Linked DNA regions of Homo sapiens: region 1 is linked to region 2. The links are contacts of gene promoters, found by promoter capture Hi-C in human tissues and cell types (Jung and others, 2019). All regions are on one chromosome and are shown on one strand. The core of a region is centred on a gene start or on the middle of the fragment in contact, and the rest is flanking DNA. Distances in the headings are between cores, read along the strand shown. Region 1 has its middle 38 kb from the start of SEC11C. Region 2 holds the start of ATP8B1 (ATPase phospholipid transporting 8B1).

Region 1 (5,349 bases), core at 303-2,802, 1.3 Mb before region 2:
ATGGATAGAACACTCCCTCTTGAAAAGATATCTGTTCTCTTTAAATTTGTCTGTTTGCTGTATGGAATTCAAGTCAAAATCCCAACAGGTTTGACTCCTAAAATTTATATGGAAGAATAAAAGATCAAGAATAGCTAAGACACTTCTGAAGAAGAATCAGGTGAAATAATCTACAATGCAGTAGAAATTAAGATAGTGTGGTAGTACCAGCGGGGAAAACAAGTAGACAAACAGAATAGAATAAAGGTGCAAAAAAGACTCACACAAATATGGGAACCAAACATAGCTGGTACCCACTCTCAGCGGAAATCAATGGATTGTTTAACAAATGATTAAAGCTGTGCTAGTTTATTTTTCATATGAAAAGTAAAAAAAAAAAAAAAAGAAAAAGGAGGCCAGGCATGGTGGCTCACAACTGTAATCCCAGCACTTTGGGAGGCTGAGGGGGCCGGATCACTTGAGGTCAGGAGTTCGAGACCAGCCTGGCCAACATGGCTAAACCTTGTCTCTACTAAAAATACAAAAATTAGCTGGGCATGGTGGTGCACGCCTGTAATCCTAGCTACTGGGGAGGCTGAGGCATGAGAATCACTTGAACCCAGGAGGCAGAGGTTGCAGTGAGCTGAGATCACACCACTGCACTCCAGCCTGGGTGACAGAGTGAGACTCCATCTCAAAAAAAAAAAAAAAAAAAGAAGGGAAGATCGCTTGAGTCCAGGAGTTCGAGACTAGCCTGGGGAAAAGAGCAAGACACCTGTCTCTTCAAAAACTAAAAAATTAGCTGGGCGTGGTGGTGTGTGCCTGTAGTGCCAGCTACTGGGGAGGCTGAGGCAGAAGGATTTTCTGAGCATAGGTGATCAAGACTGCAGTGAGCTGTGATTGTACCACTGCACTCAGCCTGGGTGACAGAGTGAGACCCTTTCTAAGAAAATAAATAAATAAACAGAATATTGAAAATTTTAATTACATTAATATTAAGAACTTTTTCAAATCAAAAGATACCATTAAAAGAGAGAGATAAAACATACCATGAATTGAGAGAAGATACTTAGAATACGTAAATCAAGAACTAGTTTCCAGAATATAAAAGAAATCCTATAATTCTCTAAAAAAAAGGCTTTAACAAAAGGCATTTCACATAAATAACATGGATGCATAATAAACATATAAAACATTTTTTAACCTCATTAGTAACTAGGGAGGGAATACAACCAAAACCCATAATGAGATTTCATACTGCCCAGATTGAACCAAATTTAAAAGTCTGACAAGAAGGGTTAAAGATTCAGGGCAACAAAAGCTCTCAGTCTCTGCTGGTGAGAGAGTAAATTGGTAGGACCACTGTGGAAGAAGATGAGCATTATTAAGTACAATTGAAGATGCGCAAACCTGTGAAGCATCAATCTGCCCCTAGGTATGTATTCTAGAGAAACTCTCACACACCCACATCTGGAGACACACACAGAATGTTTATAGTAGCATTATTCCACTAACAAAACTGCAAACAACCAAAATGCTCATCCACAGTAAAATGGATAAATTATGATGCATTCAAGCAATGAAATATTAAATATAAAAAATATTTTATTCCCACATGTATCAACATGGATATACCTCAAAAGCATTATATTAGATCAAAAGCAAGTAGCAGTATGATTAAGTTTATGTAAGTTTAAAACACAGGCAAATCTAAATAAGCAAAAGCTTAGGGATACATGCATTTGTGGTAAAACTCTGAAGTGAATGAAAATGAGTAATAGTGGCTGGGCGCAGTTGCTCACGCCTGCAATCCCAGCACTTTGGGAGACTGAGGCAGGTGGATCACTTGAGGTCAGGAGTTCGAGACCAGCCTGGCCAATGTGGTGAAATCCCATCTCTACTAAAAGTACAAAAAATAGCCAAGTGTGGTGGCAGGCACCCATAATACCAGTTACTCAGTAGGCTGAAGCAGAAGAATCACCTCAACCCAGGAGGCGGAGGTTGCAGTGAGCCAAGATCATGCTTCAGCCTGGGTGACAGAGCGAGACTGTCAAGAAAGAAAGAAAGAAAGAGAGAACGAACGAAAGAAAGAAAGAAAGAAAGAAAGAAAGAAAGAAAGAAAGAAAGAAAGAAAGAAAGAGAGAGAGAGAGAGAGAGAGAGAGGAAGGAAGGAAGGAAGGAAGGAGGGAGGGAGGGAGGGAGGGAGGGAAGGAAGGAAGGAAGGAAGGAAGGAAGGAAGGAAGGAAGGAAGGAAGGAAGGAAGGAAGGGAAAAACAAAAAGAAAAGAAAAGAAGTAATAGACAATTGAGATTCAGGACAGTGATTACCTCTGAAGAAAGTGAACAGAGAATGATTGGAGTGGGGCTCCCAGGGAGATCCAAGGGGCTTGGAAATGTTTTATTTCTTAAAATGGGTGGCAGGTCCATGGTTATTTATTTTTCTTTGAGCTATAAAAGTACATTATACACCCTCTTGTAAGCATGACAAATTTCACATGCACACAAATCCATTTTAAGGTCAATCAGTATGGAAATAAGCAACATGGCTCAGAGTGAGGGAGCGTAAGAGTTTCCTGGATGCCCTGTTACTTCCCTTGGAGAAACACTTGCTGTGCACCTGCCACATGCTAGGAACGGTGCAGCTGAGCAGACTCCCTCCTGGCTCCTTCGTCCCTCCTCGCCCTCTTGGGGATGGGAGAAAAAAGCCACTTGTGCTCAGAGTTCCTACATCCTCTGTCTACATTACTCTGGAGATGGTCACACAGGCTTGCTTTGCCCTTTGTGATTCTTTTCTCTCCCTCACCACTCTGAAATTGCTTCTGAGGGTTGGATCTATGTTTTATACTATCCTTTATTTCTTCAGTGACCGGAATGCATACGTGGATACACAAATATTTAACTTCACACACACTTTCCTGTCTTTTTTTCCCTAAACCTAGATAGGAATGTGATTTCAGAAAGAAAGGAGTTAGGAGTGCAGTTTTGTGGATTATTGATTATGTTTTGTTACTGTTAATGATAATAGTAGAAGTTCAGTGGTTGAGCAATCCTCCTGAGCACAGGGGACCTTCAGGTTACTCAAGGGAGCCCTGATGGGGGAGTGTGCTGGCCACAAGCCTTAGCCCTGGGCAGGCATCGGGCAGAACAACCGCCTGCCTGGGGTGAATCCCCGCCACCACCCCTACTAGCACCAATAGAACCTAGATGTCTTTCTACCTGCCCCATGCAGCAAATAAGATAAGGGAAAGTCTGTGTGGGTCTCCTTGCAGCATCCCTTGTTTTTAGAGAAACCCTTGGGAAGAGTAGGTCTCTCTTCTTGTTCTGGGTGTTGTCATGCCAGGAGGTGATTCTGGAATCGTTGTAGCCATCTCATGCCCAATCGGAGATTGAAGCTAATACCGAAGGCCAAATCTCAGTGGCTTACAACACAAGGGGTTTATTGCTCGCTCATGCTGTATATCCAACATGGATGGGCTTTGCCTGGGTCTCTGTTCTGAGGCCAGTCTATGGAGACAGCTCTTGTAGGGGACCTGCTCATCTTAGCAGAGGAAAAGAGACATGAAACCTTTAAATATGACACTTAAAGCTTCTGTTTGAAATGGATCTTGTCTCTTACACATTTCACTAGCCCAAATAAATCACATGGCCAAGCTTGAGTGAACAAAGGGGGTGGCATAATCCTAACACAGGGGGGCTGTAAATATTTGGGGACAATTATACAATCTACCAAGGACGGCAAGAACCTAAGAATCTGGGTCCTCGTGACATCACTGAGTCATACTTTATAACTGTCTAGTTTGCCATGTCTGTGGACCTACCCGTTACGTGAGATTTTTTAAAGTTGCCTTTCTCACTCTTCATTGTTTAGACTGCAGAGGTTGGAGTGGCCTCTTCCGAGAACAATGGTATTTCCACACTTTTGTCCTTTAGCCTAGGATGCTCAAGTTCTCTGATGCTTTGACCCAACAAATAAATATCCCATAGTGACCCTTAAGCTTTATAAGCAACCTCAAGGAGGTCCAGGAAAGTTTTGGGGAGCCGGGCCAGTTAGCAGAATTTCCAGGCTCACAATTCAAACAATTTTCTGCATCTTTATCCTAGAAAATCATAAAGGTATATGATAGTTTTCATTTAGCCGGCAAACAATTCCTTTTGAAGCACTCCCACCCACTCTCTTCCAGGCCAAGCTCCTGTGTCCTTCAATGTGTGCTTTAGGCTGATTCTTATTAATGGCTGTTCTTTCATTGTCATCTCCATAGAAAGCCTTCCTGGACTCCGCCAAGATGGTCAGTTGCAAATGACAGAAAAACAACCTAACTTCAACACACTTAAGAAACAGGGAGCTTTTTTAGCAGGCCCCTGAGATACCACCCGGAATTGAAGGACGTGTGTCCCCAGGACATTGGCTAGGGGAGGGATGGGGCTGGGCCTCAGAAAAAAACTGCCTCCAGGGAATGATAAGCCATTGATTCTCCTCCCCTCCCCTCACCTCCCCTAACCTCCCCTCTCCTCTCCTCTCCTCTTCCTTCCCTCTCAGGACAGACCGGCTACTTCCACATGGCACAGATCTGTCTGCTGTGAGCTCTCAAGTTTTATGTTTTCCGACTCCACCACCAGGAAGAGAGAGGGGCCCTGTTTCTAGTTCAAGTTCTACCTTGCCAGGGAAAGCTCTGATAGGCCTGGCTTGGGTCAGATGCTCACCCCTAGTCCATCAACCACGGCCAGGGTTTTACCATTGGCCCAACCTGGGTCAGGAGTCCAAGCCTGTTCCAGGGCCAGGGGTGCAAGGACACAGCAGCTCCTGTCGGAGCCACAGACTGGAAGCAGGAAAGGAGAAATACTCAGGGGAGCTGTTCTTAGAAGAAGGATGGGGGTTGCTGGTCAGACAAAAAGATAAGTGTCCATTCTATCTTCCACAGCACTTAGTGCTCTGTGTTGATTCTATGTCTGCTCACCTATCTCCCCGCACTGAGTCAGACCCCGGAGGGTAGAGACTGTTTCCCCCAGTGAAAATCCACCACAGGCAATGGCTGCAAGGAACAAGCTCTCTCACTCAGTTGAGGCTTGGCCCTGTACATCGTGGGGAAATTTATGAGAGTCTCAAATCCCTAATCTGTAAGATTTCAATAATATCTTCTTCAAAGTTTGCTATGAGGCTTGAAAGAGATAAAGTGTTAAAGTACCTGGCATGTAGTAAGTACTCAATACATGTTGAATAAAGAGTAATTACCAAACCCCTAAGACTCTTTCAATCTTTGGTACTTAGTTGACTCCAACTGCAGAGTTCAGGGACCCCCAAAATGAATGAACCTCACTTCTGATACCAATTGCAAGGTTAGAGGCCCCCCCAAACCACCCCTGTGTTCTGTAA
Region 2 (5,878 bases), core at 2,616-5,115:
TCCCATCTGAGAATGCTGAGAAAGGGCTGCCAAGGCTGGTGGAATCAGGGCTCTGCCAGGACAAAGAAGTCATCTCTCAGTGACTCATGTAAGATGCATTTTAAAATTGTTGCATGTGAGACACTTCCAGTGATTGCCCTGACAAGGCACCCCAAAATTTGGCATGGTTCTTTCAGAAAGGACAAGGTCGGTTTCCAGGTGAGCTAATTCCTTCATCAGCAACACCAGCTGATGCACTCTGAGAACCTCCTTCCTAAGATGAGGAAGACTTACATAGGGGAAGTGTTCTAGGATAAGGTTGTGGAGTTGTGTGGGTGTGGGTGTTTTGTTTTGGTTTTGTTTTTTTTTTTAATTTTTTTTTTGGAGACAGTGTCTTGCCCTGTCACCCAGGCTTGAGTGCAGTGGTGCAATCACAGCTCACTGCAGCCTTCACTTCCTGGGCTCAAAGGATCCTCCCACCCCAGCCTCCTGAGTAGCTGGGACTACAGGTGCGGGCCACCACACCCAGCTAATTTTATTTTGTATTTTTTGTAGAGATGGGATTTCACCATGTTTCCCAGGCTGGTCTCGAACTCCTAGGCTCGAGCAATCCACTGGCCTCAGCCTCGCAAAGTGCTGGGATTATAGGCGTGAGGCACTGCGCCTAGGATAAGGTTTTAACATGCCTCCATCTGGTGGGTTCCATGCAAAATGGGTTTTCAAAGGATTTGTCTCATCAAAGATGAAACTCTACCTTCTTGCAAGTCATTTTTCAAATGCAGCTTTTCAAGAAGCCTACCCTGACCACATTATTTAAAATTGTGACTCATCCTCCAAATCCTAATCTCTTAATCCTGCTCAATTATTATTAGTAGTAGTATTATTATTCGCTCTGTTGCCCAGGCTGGAGTGCAGTGGGGCAATCTCAGCTCACTGCAACCTCTGCCTTCAGGGTTCAAGCAATTATCTGCCTCAGCCTCCTCAGTAGCTGGGATTACAGATGCCCACCATCACGCCTGGCTAATTTTTTGTATTTTTAGTAGAGACAGGGTTTCACCATCTTGGCCATGCTGATCTTGAACTCCTGACCTCATGATCCACCTGCCTTGATCTCCCAAAGTGCTGGGATTACAGGTGTGAGCCATCGTGCCTGGTCTATTATTTTTTAATGTATAAATCTTAAGCATACAGGTCAATGAATTCTTGCATATGCGTCTACTCGTATAATTATCATTCAGATCAAGAAATATAACTTTTACAGCACTCCAAAAGGCAGCTCCTTCAGGGGCCTTCTCCCAGTCCAGCCTGTTCTATTTTTTCAAAGCATTTGCCACCTTTTAAGATACTTGCCGAGTGCAGTGGCTCACGCCTATAATCCCAGCACTTTGGGAGGCTGAGGTGGGTGGATCATGAGGTCACGAGTTCACGACCAGCCTGACCAACATGGTGAAACCTGTCTCTACTAAAAATACAAAAATTAGCCTGGCCTGGTGGCTGTGCCTGTAACCCCAGCTACTCGGGAGGCTGCGGCAGGAGAATTGCTGGAACCCAGGAGGTGGAGGTTGCAGTGAGCCGAGATCACACCACTGCACTCCAGCCTGTGCAACAGAGCGAGCCTCTGTCTAAAAAAAAAAAAAAAAAAAGATATTTGATTGGCTCATAGATGTACCCAAGCAACTAGAAAACTGCCTGACACACAGTAGGCACTCACACTCAAATCTTTGTTGAATGAAAGAATATTATTTTATTTTGAGACAGAGCCTCGCTCTGTTGCCCAGGCTGAAGCGCAGTGGCACAGTCTCGGCTCACTGCCTGCCACCTCAGTCTCCCAGGTTCAATTGATTCTCCTGCTTCAGCCTCTTGAGTAGCTGGGACCACAGGCGCCCGCCACCATGCTTGGCTAATTTTTGTATTTTTAGTACAGGTGGTGGCTCATGACTGTAATCCCAGCACCTTGGGGGGCTGAGGCAGGTGGACCGCTTGAACTGGGGAGTTCAAGACAAGCCTGGGCAACATAGTGAAACCCAACCCTGTCTCTATAAATAAATAAACAAGTAAATAAATGCAGACATCAGAATGGTATTGATCAGATCTAGGTACAGGTGTAGATTGGATGCGTCCTTGTTTAGTCTCTTCTATGTAACATTTTCTTGGACAGGTTGAGCACTTGGTAGTGGATCTGCAAGGAGGGGGTGCCCCCTTTAGTCTGGAATCCCCTCTTGATTCCTAGGTTTGCTGGCATTTATCCAGATAGGGGCAGAGTCTTCCTAAACGGCTTCCCTCCTTTGGAGTCTGCTGCTCCTTGCATGCCATAACCCAGTCTTGAGAACCTGGCTCACCTTCCATTGCTCCCCTCTCCCAGTCAGTTGCAGGTTGTGGCCACTTCGTGCCCTATCTCTCTTCTGTGGTGTCCCTTGAATTTCCTCCTTTTTACTTCCCCTGGCAACTCCTCCGTATGTCGCTGTCCCAGCCTCTCAAGTGATTCTCCCATCTTCAGTTTTATCCTCTCTAGACTATCTCCCTATTATTTTCCCTAAAACACAACCTTGATCATGCTCATGCTCGGTCCTAAATTGTCAACGGTTTGCAGGTGCTACCAAAAACAAGTCTAAATGTCTTAGATCAACCAGTGTCACCAACAGGCCCTATGTTCTCTTGCATCGGTACCTTTGTTCTGTCGTTAGCTTCAGAATATAAGTGCTGGAAGAGACCATCTGGTCCAATCTCATTTTACAAATGAGGAAACTGAGGCCTGGATAGATTGAGTGACTGACCAGCACCTAGTCAGAGATCAAGTTTGACTCATGAAAAAGAAGCCTAGAGCAGCCTCGGGGTTGGTATCAGACAAGATTCTACCAGTTGGCCACCCGTTGAATACCCTCTCTACACAACTCTGATCCTTAAAGCTGTGGATCTTTGAGTCCCATCAAGCACGGCCTCCTGTAGGAAGCCTCTGTGATGACCCAGTTGGGAGTCTGGACTCTTGGGCATAGATGTGAGCCTCTAGGTGACTGGGAATCGTGTGGGAGTCCTGGCTCCCCTACTGCATTTTAAGCAAACTCTGATCTTTGATTTTCCTCCATTCTTATCCCAACGACTCGGTCCATAGTCGGGGAGCGGCAAAAGTCTACTCAAGAAGGAGGGTAATGTCTATACTGCCAGGGAGGCACGATTCACCCGCTCAGACACCAGCCAGCAACGAGGCGCTGAGTCCAAAATTTCCACCTACACCGCGTGGTTCACGGGCCGCACCTTAACTCCTTTTGACTCCAAACCCAAAAAAACTCGATAGCGTTTGGACTCGGCAGAAAGCCTGCTGGCTGCAATCACAGGATACGTTTCTGGAAGTCTTGAGGCGCAGCCTCTTTCTTCACCCTCCACGCGGCGAACTTTGACGCGCATTCGGTGACCGGTCCCCAAACATGACTTGGCATCAAGAGGACACAGCTCCCCTTACCGAGGGAGCTCAGGTCCCGGGCGCGCCGCGGCCCCGCCAGCTTTCCAGGCTGGCTCAGTCCTCGACCCGGGGTGACGGCCAAGCCAGCCAAGGGCAGCGGGAAAGTGACGCTGGGCTGGAGAGGTGTGGTGGCGAGTGCGGCCCCCGGGGAGCTAAGAGCAGCCGCAGCAACTGGGTCTCAGGCTGGGCGAGGCAAGGGCTCGTAGGCTGGGCTCGGAAGACTGAAAGGGGTGCCCACCTGACTCCAGGACGCACGGAGGGCGTGGGGCAGGAGCTGGACCTGGGCCGCCTCGGGCCGCCCCGGGGCTTGCAGTCCAGCCCCTCTCCGCCCTAGGGAGGGAAAAAGGGAGGGGAGAAGGCCGAGCCCGCCTCCAGCCCCAGCCCCAGCCCCAGCGAGGCTCGGCGGCCGCGGCTGCTGGAGGGAAACCAGAGGCACCTCCCCGAGCGGAGAAACCAGTTTGGCCGGTCCGGCGGAGCGGAGGCAAAAGGGCGGCTGCAGAGGAAGGGTGCACGGACGCGGGGCGGGGAAAGGCGGGGGAGCCACTAGCGAGCCGCGAGAGCCGGAGGTGCCGCCGCCAACTAGACACGCTTCCCCGGGCCCCCGGCCAGCCCCCGTGCGCCATGCAGCGCTAGCGCGGCGGCCAGGGCTGGGGCCGGGCGGGCGGCGGCAGCGGCCAGGTGCGCAGCGAGCGCTCCGAGCGGCGCGCACCAGGCGGATGCCCCAGCCGGGGCCCAGCGAACGCCAGGTAAGCAGGGGTGCGGCGCCGGGGGCCCCCAGACCTTCCCAAGCCCCTTGGCCCGGCGGTGTCCTGCAGGTTCCCTGGCCGCTCCCGCCGCACTTTGGAGATCCGGGATGCGGCGGCAGCAGCTGTCAGCGCCCTCGGACTCCCGAGCCCGCACAGGTGGGATTTGGGTGGAGGTGCTGGGAGCCCCCGAGGCCTCGGGGACGGCGAGACACGGCCGGCTGGGCAGGCAGCGCTGCGGAGAGTTCCGTGGGGTTTTCACCTGCCTAGAGGAGGGAAATCTCGGGGTGTTTGGGTTCTTCGATCGGTAGCGACACACATGTCCGGGGGTTAAGCCAGGTAGGGCTTGCGGCTCCTTGGGGGATGCCGCTGGCTCCTGTGCGGTGGCTACCGCCCCTCTGGAAGACCCCGGTGACCGGGTCCTGCTGGGGCGCTCTTTGGGAGCAGATGCCAACGTGTCCGAAAAGGACTTGCGGGCCAAACGTATCTGACCGCGGCCCACCTGCCGGGAGGGATGGAGGGGGTGAGATCGCTCTCCTCCCCAGCTCCTGTGGCAGGGCCAGGTACTCCCAGACATCTTCCGTGCGCTTTATTGTGGGATGGGGAGGGGAGGTGATGGGGAAGACCGACACCACTGTTTTTCCGGTGACTGTCGGGTCGCGTCCGCCAGCCCCGCTGAGATGGCTGCAGGCATCTCCTTCCCTCAGCAGTTTGGTGCCCTGCGCTGTCACCTCGCTGTGTGCACGAGGAGGGGCAACTTGTTGGGGGGCGCGGGGAGATGTTGCAGAGAATGGCCCAGTGCTTTAACACCCCTCGCCCCCACTTCTCCAACTCCCTCCTTCTCCCCAAAGTGAAAGAAAAGTTCTGAAGTGTCTGCCCAACTTTTCCGACGGAGGCGTGTGCCTGTGGTCCCTGCCGGGGGTTGGTGGCTGGTTGCGGGGGGGGGCGGTGCTCGGAGCGCAGATCCGTGACGGTTGTACGGGGGAGACTGGATTGCAGTAAGGATGCAAATTGGGGAAGGGGGATTGACACGCAGAAGTAAGGAGGACTTGGGCCGCGCTTCTGCCCGGTGAGTACCCGCTCAACCCTACCCGACCCCCTTGGCCTGCACGCGCTGCCCTTGGGGGCTGCAAGCTCTTCCTGGGTAGCTCCAGACGCCGCCGAGTTCCTCTCCCGGAAACTGGCCTCCCTGTTGGCGTGAGAAAATATTCGCTCCCATCTTCCTGGTTGCATTGCCTTCAAAATTTTGCCACTACCCATGGGAAACTAAAAAAAGAAAAAACTAGTGGGATGTTTGGAGATCACCCGGCACACGGTAGGTTATCGATGAAGGTTAACTGCTTTCAGGAACAAAAGCTAAAAAAAACCACGCGTGATAAAGCCTCCAGGGATAGTGAATACGAGCCCGTATATATGGGGGACACGACAGCAAATGTGAAGTAGAAGCGCTAATTTTCGTCCGCTAAGGAATACTTTTGTGTTAGACCTAAGATGCCGTTCATTAATTCTGGGCCTGTTGTTGAAGGCTTTATTAAACCCTATTATAAATGCGCAGACTGTGCACAAGATGATTAATGCTTATTAGCTGATTACTTTCTGGGGGAGAAGTCACGCCTGCCTGCAGTTAACTCCTCTGAATTCTCTTAATGATTTTCATTAGGTGGTGGAGTTTTCCTTGCTATAATTTTGGGAAGGAACA

Evidence for each region. Contacts are between HindIII fragments. The study calls those that stand out against the background at their distance.
Region 1: a fragment that was not itself captured here is called in contact with the fragment with the promoter of ATP8B1 in region 2 in 1 of the 25 tissues and cell types used here (mesenchymal stem cells).

The regions. Positions count from the first base shown.
Region 1 is chr18:59,099,312-59,104,660 of GRCh38, reverse strand. No RefSeq gene overlaps it. Among named protein-coding and RNA genes, the nearest start is that of SEC11C, 38 kb to the left of the region's middle. The HindIII fragment of the contact is 4,499 bases long and covers 1-3,801 here.
Region 2 is chr18:57,801,302-57,807,179 of GRCh38, reverse strand. ATP8B1 (ATPase phospholipid transporting 8B1) reads left to right here and starts at 3,865. Exons shown (of 28, transcript NM_001374385.1): 1 at 3,865-4,182. RefSeq lists an enhancer at 3,608-4,245. The HindIII fragment of the contact is 14,543 bases long and covers 1-5,878 here.